2 separate regions of the Homo sapiens genome follow, and region 2 is linked to region 1. Evidence: promoter capture Hi-C in 16 types of primary human blood cells and fetal thymus (Javierre and others, 2016). All regions are on one chromosome and are shown on one strand. Each heading gives the region's core, a stretch centred on a gene start or on the middle of the fragment in contact. The rest is flanking DNA. Distances are from core to core; before and after follow the strand shown. Region 1 holds the start of TREX1 (three prime repair exonuclease 1). Region 2 holds the start of NCKIPSD (NCK interacting protein with SH3 domain).

Evidence for each region. The method cuts DNA at HindIII sites, captures the fragments that hold promoters and counts their contacts. A CHiCAGO score of 5 or more calls a contact.
Region 2: the fragment with the promoter of NCKIPSD here is called in contact with the fragment with the promoter of TREX1 in region 1 in 4 of 17 cell types (M2 macrophages, M0 macrophages, M1 macrophages and 1 more); the score reaches 10.3 in M2 macrophages.

What each region holds. Positions count from the first base shown.
Region 1 is chr3:48,464,422-48,467,479 of GRCh38, reverse strand. It overlaps TREX1 (three prime repair exonuclease 1), which reads right to left and starts at 1,250. Exons shown (of 2, transcript NM_033629.6): 1 at 1,171-1,250; 2 at 1-850. The coding sequence starts at 824. It overlaps ATRIP (ATR interacting protein), which reads right to left. Exons shown (of 13, transcript NM_130384.3): 11 at 2,818-2,898; 12 at 2,397-2,649; 13 at 1-1,993. The coding sequence ends at 1,926. It overlaps ATRIP-TREX1 (ATRIP-TREX1 readthrough), which reads right to left. Exons shown (of 15, transcript NR_153405.1): 12 at 2,818-2,898; 13 at 2,397-2,649; 14 at 1,171-1,993; 15 at 1-850. RefSeq lists enhancers at 1-440, 655-854, 441-1,322, 1,935-2,024. The HindIII fragment of the contact is 3,980 bases long and covers 1-2,879 here.
Region 2 is chr3:48,681,043-48,687,639 of GRCh38, reverse strand. It overlaps NCKIPSD (NCK interacting protein with SH3 domain), which reads left to right and starts at 1,725. Exons shown (of 13, transcript NM_016453.4): 1 at 1,725-2,003; 2 at 4,628-4,737; 3 at 5,088-5,292; 4 at 5,484-5,595; 5 at 5,860-6,353. The coding sequence starts at 1,833. RefSeq lists enhancers at 1,218-1,287, 882-1,613 and silencers at 1,810-2,104, 1,498-2,217. The HindIII fragment of the contact is 7,513 bases long and covers 1-2,612 here.

The sequences.
Region 1 (3,058 bases), core at 1-2,500:
GGAGGAAGATCCTTGGTACCCCTGCTCTCTCCAAGGCTGGGACTAGTGTTCCTGGTTGTGGCCAGGTGTGCAGTGGTTGTGACAGCAGATGGTCTTGGCTTGGTCCTAGCAGAGGCTGTGACCCCATACATGGGCCTGATGGTGCCGAAAGGCCTGGCGTGAGCATCCACCCACCGCAGCAGGGCCTGTGGTCTCCACTGACAGATGCTGAGCAGGGCCAGGACATCACCCTCAGCCGTGTGCGAGTCTGGAGGGGACTGCCCATACAGGCGAGTGTAGATGCTGCCTAGGCTATAGCTCTTCCTTGGGCCGTGTTCTGAGGGGCTGCTTGCTCGCTCCAGGGCCTTCAGCGCAGTGATGCTATCCACACAGAAGGCACCATCCAGAGCACTGGTGAGGCCCAGCATAGCCAGCTCTGCTTGGAGCAGGGGGAAGTCGTAGCGGTCACCATTGTGTGCCACCAGGCACCAGGGCTGTGGCTGGCGCCGCAGGAAGGCTAGGAGCAGGTTGGCCAGGTTGTCATCAAAACATTGACGCCCATGCGCTGCCAGCACAGCTGTGCTCAGACCTGTGATCTCGCTGGCTGCAGGGCTGCAGGCCTTCCCCGGAGCCACACACAGGGAGAGCTTGTCTACCACACGCGGTGGTGGAGGAACTGTGGGAGGTGGCCCCTGAGAGGTGGGGGGGCTCTCCAGGGCACATCTGTGGACAGCCAGCAGGCACAGCTCCGTGACCTTGGGCTGGGAGAAGGGCAAGCCAGTGGCCTCCATGTCGAAAAAGATGAGGGTCTGCATGGGCCCCGGGGGCAGGGCCTGCGAGCCCATGGTTGGGTACGTACCTGCTGCTGAGCCTGGAGAGGAGCATGGGGTGGGTGTGTGAGTGCCCAGTGTTAAGATCCGAAGGGGAGGGAGTGGGGTAGGGGGTGGGCAGAAGCACATCTCAGGCCTTCCCTGCACAATCCTGCCCTGTCTGCGAGCTCCAGGGCCCATTTTCAGGCAGGAAGTTGGAGAGGGTGAGGTGGTTTCCTTAGTGGGACCAGCACATTCGACTGTCTGAGAGGGTCTCCCTCTTCACATGACTCGGCCCCTCCCCTAGTGCCCCCTTAGTCTGGGGTGGGGGAACCCATGGCCCTCCTGCCCTGCGCCATCCCATTGTGGGGGCCACACTCACCGTAGCAGGCAGGCAGGCAGGCAGTAGTGACTCGGCTGCACACTCTCCCGCGGCTCTCGCTGGCAGCAGTGGCGGGAAGTGAAACTTGGCGTGGGCCCGCCTACAGGCCCACGTGAGCCAGGCCCGCCCTGCTCGTCAGCCTGCCTGGTCTGTCCCTCTCACCACCATCCGTTCCCCCCCACACCCACTCCCCTGCTCCCGGGGGACCCCAGAGGCCTTCCAAGATCCACAGCTGTGGCCTGCTGGTGGCACAATGCACCGGGGCCATCATACCAGTGACAGGCAGCTGGAAGGACCAGGGCAGTGGTGCCAGACCAGCTCCCGGTCTTACACACTGCTGGGAGCCCCTGCTGCGGCCCTTTCATGCCCACCTGTGGGTCCCAGTTTCCCAGGCTTTCCTGGTTTAGGCCTGGGCCAAGAGCCACCTCCTTCCCTGCCACACAATGGTTTCTTCCCATGGCCCCAGCCCAAAGCAATGACTCAGGACAATTCCACAGGCAGGGCAGGGCTCCTTCCTCAAGGCAGATCAGTTACCATGGGGACGGGCTCAGCAACAGCCAGGGACAGGAAGAAGGATCCCAGCCACTCAGGGTCCGGGTCCTGCTCCACCCCTCCCACTCCGCCAAACAGATCAGACTCAGGAAACAAGGCCAGCCAGTTCTCTGGGCAGTTCCTGCTGGTCACTGCTTTAATCAGTTGATGTGGTAAGGAAAGGAGTGGTGCTGGTGCCACCATGTGGCTGGACACTCAGGGCCTCAGCCACACTCCACCTCGGGGTCTTCCACATCGGTTTCCGCGGCACAGAGGTCATCCAGGGCTGCCTCTGAGACAAAAAGGAGAGGTTCCTGGTGAGGGCCCAAAGGTGCCAGGGCCTAGGGCAGGTCCCACCTCTCCTCCCCCAACGTCCGCAGGAACTAACCAGTCCCTTCCACACCCAGGCCCTGCTCCCTCAGCTACTGCAAACAAAGTGATACAAAGGCAATTCAGACACGGCTATTTCTGGAAAAACCGTGGCTCTGCCAGGCACACTCAACAGATAGATGCAAAAGGCATCCCAATATGCTTGGAGAAGAACTGAGGCAGGAAGATAAAAGAAAATGGCCCCAGTGCTGGAACAGGCTGCAGTGGGCGGGGGCCTGCTGAGGGGACACCCAGGAATCTGACTTGTTGGGGAACCTCTGGAAGAAGCCATGGGGGCTGGGCAGGATGGCCTCTGGCAGGCTTACCTTCACAGTCCGTCACATCAGGAAGCCCTCGGATGAGCATGCTGACCCCCGGCATCACCTGGTCAAACTGATGCAGGACCTCCACGCAGTGCATCATGAAGAGCTTGTCCTTCTGCGATAGGCCGTGCAGCAGCAGCACCGTGTCCCGCAGACAGCGCACTGTCCGCCTCTGCTGGTCGGTCCTTGGGGGTCCCCCTGCCCTCCGCACTGTCAGCCACTGTCTGTGCAACATCACCGTGAGCGCTCTGACCACCTGAGAGAGGGGGGGTGCAGACTGAGGCCTGGTGCCACCATGGCCTGCACCCTAACAATCCGCTCAGCCTAGCCACCTCACGTGAGGGGGTTTGCAGTGGGGCCTACAGTCCTTGCACGGGGCCCCCTTACCACCAGAGCTGCCAGCTGTTGGCCCCTACCCACTCACCTCCACATTACACTGGCAGTTGGAGCCAGTGACTGGGGGCAAGGGGCTCTGCACACCAAGCTTAGCCAGGAGCCACACCACCTAGAACAAGAACAGATTGGTTCCATCCTGGGCAGAAGGAGACCAGTCCCTGCGAGGGTTTTCTTAAGCTTCTATAAGAGTTCACTTGCTTCAGCAACTGTTTGTCTGCACAAATGGGGTCCAAGAAGTGGTGTGGGACCTTCCCAGGGAAGACCCAGGA
Region 2 (6,597 bases), core at 476-2,975, 220 kb before region 1:
GGCAGCAGCTAATTGGCTGGCTATTGTGATAGATGTCCTGGAAGCAATACTAGGGTCTCTAGCCTCGGGTCTGGTCCATTGGCAGCCATGGACTGTGTTGTAAAGGGGCCCAGGTGATGGAGGGTACCATAAAAAGGCGTGTTTGGGCAGGTAGGGTGGTCCTCTTGGCCACACCACCTGTCACCACTCCTGCCCAGCCCTAGTCCCCATTGCAATTTCACCAGTCTTATTCTTCAGGCAGTCCCAGACAGCACAGACCCCGAGATTCTGCCCTGCCCCAGGAGGGCTTCTGGGAGGAGGAAGGGCCAAGAGAGGTCTTGAACTGAAGAGCCAGACCTGGTGCAGAGAAGGCAGGGTCTGGATGTCAGTTTCTAGCAGTTCTACCCCTCACCTGAACCTCACACTAGGCCTATGTACTTTAGGCCTAAAAATAGGCAACTGGGTCAGACAGACACCCATAATCCCAACACTGGGAGGACTGCTTGAGTCCGGGAATTTGAGACTAGCCAGAGCAACATAGCAAGACCTTGTCTCTACTAAAAAAAAAAAAAAAAAAAAAAAAAAAAAAAGCTGAGTGTGGTGGTGCATGCCTGTAGTCCCAGAGACAGTAGGCTTGAGCCTGGAAGATCAAGGCTGCAATGAGCTTGATCATCCCACTGCACTCCAGCCTGGACGACAGAGCAAGACCCTGTCTCAAAAAATAAATACAGATAAAAATAGAAAACTTGCACACACTGGCCTGTACACGCCTCCTGCTTCCTGGGCTCGGGCTTCCTGTGGAGCGTAGCTGGACCATTCTCAGCCACAGTCTCTCCAGGACCCTGAGGGCCTCTTCCCTGGGTCTTCCAGGCACTCTTATTACACGGATTTCATATATCTGGAGATCTGGGCTGACTGGAAAGCTGGGTGGATCAAATAGGCTCTTAAGGCCACCGTGGTACCCCACTCCCTCTTTCAGCCCTCCTCTATGCTCTCAGAAAGGGGCATCGCAAATCTTAAGTCCTATAAAGACAATAAAACACAGCAAGATGATAGCGATTGATGGGGGTGGGAGCTTGACGGACAAATACTATAGGAGAGGGAAGGGAAAATTGTCCCAGGTAGAGGGAACAGAATATGCAAAGGCCCAATATAGAGAAAACCAGCCATAGCTGAAGAGAGAGGAGGAGTAGGGGTGGGGAGCAAAGATGGGAGGGCTTTAGACAGGGAATAGCCCCGCCTGGTTTCTGCTTTTGTGGCCCCCTTCTCCCCACACTTGCTCCCCACTGGCCACCACCGGCACTCGGTGAAGACAGGTGGTGAGGCCTAGACACACCGAGAGCCGGGCCCCGCGGGGGCTTCCAAGTGTCGGATCAGCAAGATCATCCTTTCGAGGTCGCCGTCCTTGCAATTAGTAGATGGGACCCACTGCCCCAGGGCGGTAGGGGCGCACCCGCTACGAGCGGAGCGCGCTTTCACCGGGAGGTAGGACGGGACGCAGCGCTCGGACTTAAGCGGGGAAAGGGAGCAGAGGGCTGGACGGGTGAAACTGAGGCCGGGGTGAGGAGTGAGGGTGCGGTGTCCGGGGATGAGGGGCCTGGAGCCGGGAGGGACCAGAGGAGACAGCGAGCTGTCGACCCCAGCCCCGCCGCACCTCTTGGGGCCGCGCGGGGGCGCTGCTCTCCGATGCGTGGAACGATACAGCCCGGGGCGGGGCTTCGGCGGGCGGGCGCGCGCGCGCCTGCGTAGTGTGTCACGGGGCGGGACAACCGCGGCGCGGCTCGGCGCTCCCGGCCTGGCGTTGTGGCGCCGCAGCCCTTGCCACCTTCCCTGCACCTGCCCTGCCCGGCCTCATGTACCGCGCGCTGTACGCGTTCCGCTCGGCGGAGCCCAACGCGCTGGCGTTCGCCGCGGGCGAGACCTTCCTGGTGCTAGAGCGAAGCAGCGCGCACTGGTGGCTGGCCGCGCGGGCGCGCAGTGGTGAGACGGGCTACGTGCCGCCAGCCTACCTGCGCCGCCTGCAGGTGAGTGCGCCCCTTCCCGCCCGGCCTCCGCGCCCCTGGGGCAGGACCCCTTCACAGCCCCGCGGAACCGACCCAGGGACCCCACCCTCTCCGGGACCCGAGGCCAGGACCTCTATCAGACAGGGAGTTTGAGAACCTGACCCTGAGACCCCCGGACCCACGGGGACTGAGACCCCAAGTGTCAGCATCACCCACAAAAGACCAGGCCCTTGACAGACCAACTCCCGATCGACCAAAAGCCTAACTCTGGGACTGAGACTCCTCAGGACCCCAGACCCTTCAGTATCGAGTCCGCCATCTGAATGGCGACCCTGAGCCCCACCGAATCCTGGCCAATTATTCAAATCCCTGAGACCCCAGATCCTTAATATGCCCCTTCTCTGGATTCCTAGGACCCCACAACCAACCTCCCTCCCTCCCTCCCTCCCTCCCTCCCTCCCTCCCTTCCTTCTTCCCCCAACCCCGCGCCTTGCCCCCCGTTGGAGCCACCACTGAGACCTGGACCACCTTGGACACCACCTGTTTCCCTAGCCATTCTCCAGGTCCTCAACCCCCCAACTTGGACCCTAGAGCCATAGACACCTCCATCCCCTATGTAACACCCAAGCTTTGGTACTTCAGTGTCTTTCACTAGCCTGTGTTCAGCCACCCTCTAAGCTCTTCTTAAGTCTCTACCAACCTTATTTGAACCAAGGACCCATGCCCCTGCTGACACTGTCTGCTCCACTCCCCAACCCTGACTTCTCAAACTTTCTTGCTTTGAAAATGGGTTCCATCCCTACTTGTTCCCAGCCTGGAGTGGGGACTGCTCACATTGTGATGAAGTGAGTTCTTATAGCTTCTCCTGGTCTGATCGTGGCCCCATTTCCTTCCAGTGGAAGCTGCAGTCCCAGTTCCTGTTTCCCTAAGAGTAGCCCTGCTGCGGGGGTTGGGGTGCGTATCTCCAGCTGGTCTATTCTGACCACAGGGGGAAGAAGGGCCCAGAGCTGCCGGGCCTGTGCCAGACACCCCCGCCCCGTCCTAGTCCTTATCCTTTAGGAAACATCCTGTCCCAGCCCAGTTCAGGACAGAAATAACGGGATAAATTTGGAAGTGTCATCTGGTCTTACCAGGAAGGATGGGCCCTGGGGGCCTAGGGGCTTCCTCATAGACCCTTGGCGTGATCCCATCTAGGAGTGCCAGGGGTGGGAGTGGGGGCCGTGGACACCATGGCTGCTGTGTGTCAGACCCAACCTTTTTGGGAATGGGGTCTCATTGAAGGCCTCTGAGGAAAAGTCCTGTCTCTTCCCCTACTGGGCATAGGTCAAGGGCCTGTGAGTCCCCTGCCGCCAGCCAGGACCAGTGGGGCAAGGTGTTTGGGGAGGGCAGAGAGGCTACCATCTTCTCTGTCACTGTCTGTTTCTTTCTGCGTGTCTCTTTCTGTCTGGATTGCTGCGACTCTGTGCCTCTCTGCCTGTGTCGTTCCGACTCCACATGTGTGTGTTTTTGTTTCTTCCTCCGGCTCCCCCCACACTCTGGCTTTGGCTCTGTTTCTTTCTGCGTTGTTTCCCTCTGTCTGCCTCTCCGTTCCTCTCTGAGCTCCTCTCTTTCCCCATTCCTTTCTTTCTCTCTCTCTCTGTGTGTGTGTGTGTGTGTGTGTGTGTGTGTGTGTGTGTGTCTTCATGTCTTTCTATCCCCCTGTCTCCTCTCCCTGCACTCTGGCACACCTCATACCACCTGGAGGGCTTTGCTGACCTCTGTGCCCACCTGTCTGTGCCCATCAGGGAAGCTTCTCAAACCCATGGTGGAATGAGTTCATCTCAGCTCCGGGACTCCTATGTAGCCTGATGGACTACGTGTGCCAGGGCCAGGGGAGGGCTGGGGGTAGCTGGTTTGATAGCTGCTACCCTACACTCCCCATGTCAGATAGGCAGAGTAGACTGGATCCCTGGAATGTTGGGGATGGCAGTACAGAGCCTGGAACAGGGGCTAGGCCCCTCTCTCATGTTTATCCTTTGCCACAAACACAGAACTGCTTCCCAGGGTGGGTTTGGAAGCTTACTGAGACATCTTGTGGGGATGAGGGCCAGCAGCAGGGTTGGGGAGGGCAAGTCCCTTTGACCCATTCTCAGCTCCCAGGGCTTACAGAGGGCCCTTACAAGGACAGGGCTGTTCTGGGGTATGACCTTGGTTTTGTGAAAGATCAGCAAGATGCAGAGTGATGTATTAAGGATTCCAGATACTGGAGACTTCCTGTTTGGCATCTCAACCTGGGCTCTGAGCCAAGACCAGGGATAGACGAGGTATGCGCTCCTGGCTGCAAGCTGGGAGCCCCTGGGCTATGTTTTTGCTTTAGACCTCTGATTTTCAGAAACATCTTAGCCAAGAGCCTTGCTGTGGGGTAAAATCCTGATCAGGACCTAATATGTAATGTGGCAGCATGGGGGTCACCCTGTGCCTCAGCTCCCTGAGTGATACAGTTTGAGAACCCCATTCCATATTCTGGTTCAACTTTTTGTGCTATGTCTAGCATTCCAGGCTTTCGCTATATTGGTTCTCTGCCCTGGGTTCTATCTCGGGCTGGGCCTGGGCTGAGCACCTCCGTTTGGCCTTCAGGTCTAACTGCTGTCCCCTGCCCCCCCCAGGGCCTGGAGCAGGATGTCCTCCAGGCCATTGACCGGGCCATCGAGGCTGTACACAACACAGCCATGCGGGATGGTGGCAAGTACAGCCTGGAACAGCGTGGAGTCCTCCAGTGAGTGTTGAGGGGAGTGAAGTGGGACCTCCCGGTGAGCATGGTGGGGTGGGGTTCTTCAATGAGTGTCATGGGGCAGGTGGGCCTGGGAAATGCGAGGGTTGGCAAGGGTGGTGGGGGAATGGCACCTCCCAGTGAGCAAGGTGGGGTCGGGTCCTTCAGTGAGCACCAGGGGTGTGCAGAGCGCAGGACTGAGGATAGTATGGGGTACTGTAGGCTGGGGTGGAGCATGGAGGAGATGGGGATGTCTGAGGGGCCTGGGCTATGGGGTCCCAGCATCCCACAGGGGCATATGAGGACTTTGAGCTGTGAGATGCAACCCCCCAATAGTCTTCCTGTCCTTCCATCAGGAAGCTGATCCACCACCGGAAAGAGACCCTGTCACGCAGAGGCCCTTCAGCCTCCAGTGTTGCAGTTATGACCTCATCAACCAGTGACCACCACTTGGATGCTGCTGCAGCCAGGCAGCCCAATGGGGTGTGTCGAGCTGGGTTCGAGCGGCAGCACAGCCTACCCAGTTCTGAGCATCTTGGGGCAGATGGAGGCCTCTACCAGGTGTGTGGGGAGGACATCGTGGAGAAGGGAGGTGGGTGGAACTTGAGGCTTCATCCAGAGGCTCAAGGGGTCCACTCAGGAGTGATGCGGCCCAGAGCCATAGTCCTGCCCACAGCCAGGGCTCAGGGCCCGAGCCTCGCTGACGCTCTAGATGTCAGTCTGTCCTCCAAGATCCTACTTCCATCTTCCAGATCCCACTTCCATCTTCCCAGATCCCACCACAGCCTCGCCGAGCAGCACCCACCACACCGCCCCCACCAGTGAAGCGCCGAGACCGCGAGGCCCTGATGGCCTCTGGGAGTGGTAAGAAGGCAGGGTTAGGGGAATTCAGGTGGAGGCACCCTATGCTTGGAATGGTTGTGCTGCCTGTGTCAGGGAAATGGAGGCTCTAAGCTGGGGAAGAGGACAGGACTCCCATTTTGGGGCAATTAGGGGCTCTGGGCTTTGTGAGGAGGCAGTGCCTAGCAGAGAAACTAGGCCCTGTGTTAGGGGACAGGGGATCTGGGCTGTGAAGGGTATGGTTTTCCAGGGGGCTGCCCTGGCCCAGCTTCTACTCACTGCTCGCAGGTGGCCACAACACCATGCCCTCCGGGGGTAACTCTGTGTCCAGCGGCTCCTCAGTCAGCAGCACCTCCCTGGACACGCTCTATACCAGCTCCAGCCCATCTGAACCAGGCTCCAGCTGCTCACCCACACCCCCACCTGTGCCCCGCCGAGGCACCCACACCACCGTGTCCCAAGTCCAGCCCCCTCCCTCCAAGGCATCAGCACCTGAACCCCCTGCAGAAGAAGAAGTGGCAACTGGTACAACCTCAGCCTCTGATGACCTGGAAGCCCTGGGTACACTGAGCCTGGGGACCACAGAGGAGAAGGCAGCAGCTGAGGCGGCTGTGCCCAGGACCATTGGGGCCGAGCTGATGGAGCTGGTGCGGAGAAACACTGGCCTGAGCCACGAATTATGCCGGGTGGCCATCGGCATCATAGTGGGTCACATCCAGGCCTCGGTGCCGGCCAGCTCACCAGTCATGGAGCAGGTCCTCCTCTCACTCGTAGAGGGCAAGGTGAGGGTGGGCGGCACAGCAGGGCCACCCTGCTACCCACCCTGTTCCCACCGTCACACACTTGTCCAGCCTGTACATTACAGGTATTTCTCAAGCTCTGGCTCTGAGCTCTTACTGTGCTGGGCACTGGGGACGTTGAGCTGATTTCTGAAGCAGAAAGGAAGGACAAGCATTCCAGGCAGATGCGCAGCCTGGACAAGGGCCACAAGGCAGGACTGAGCCTGGCTTGTGGGAGGAAGTGGAA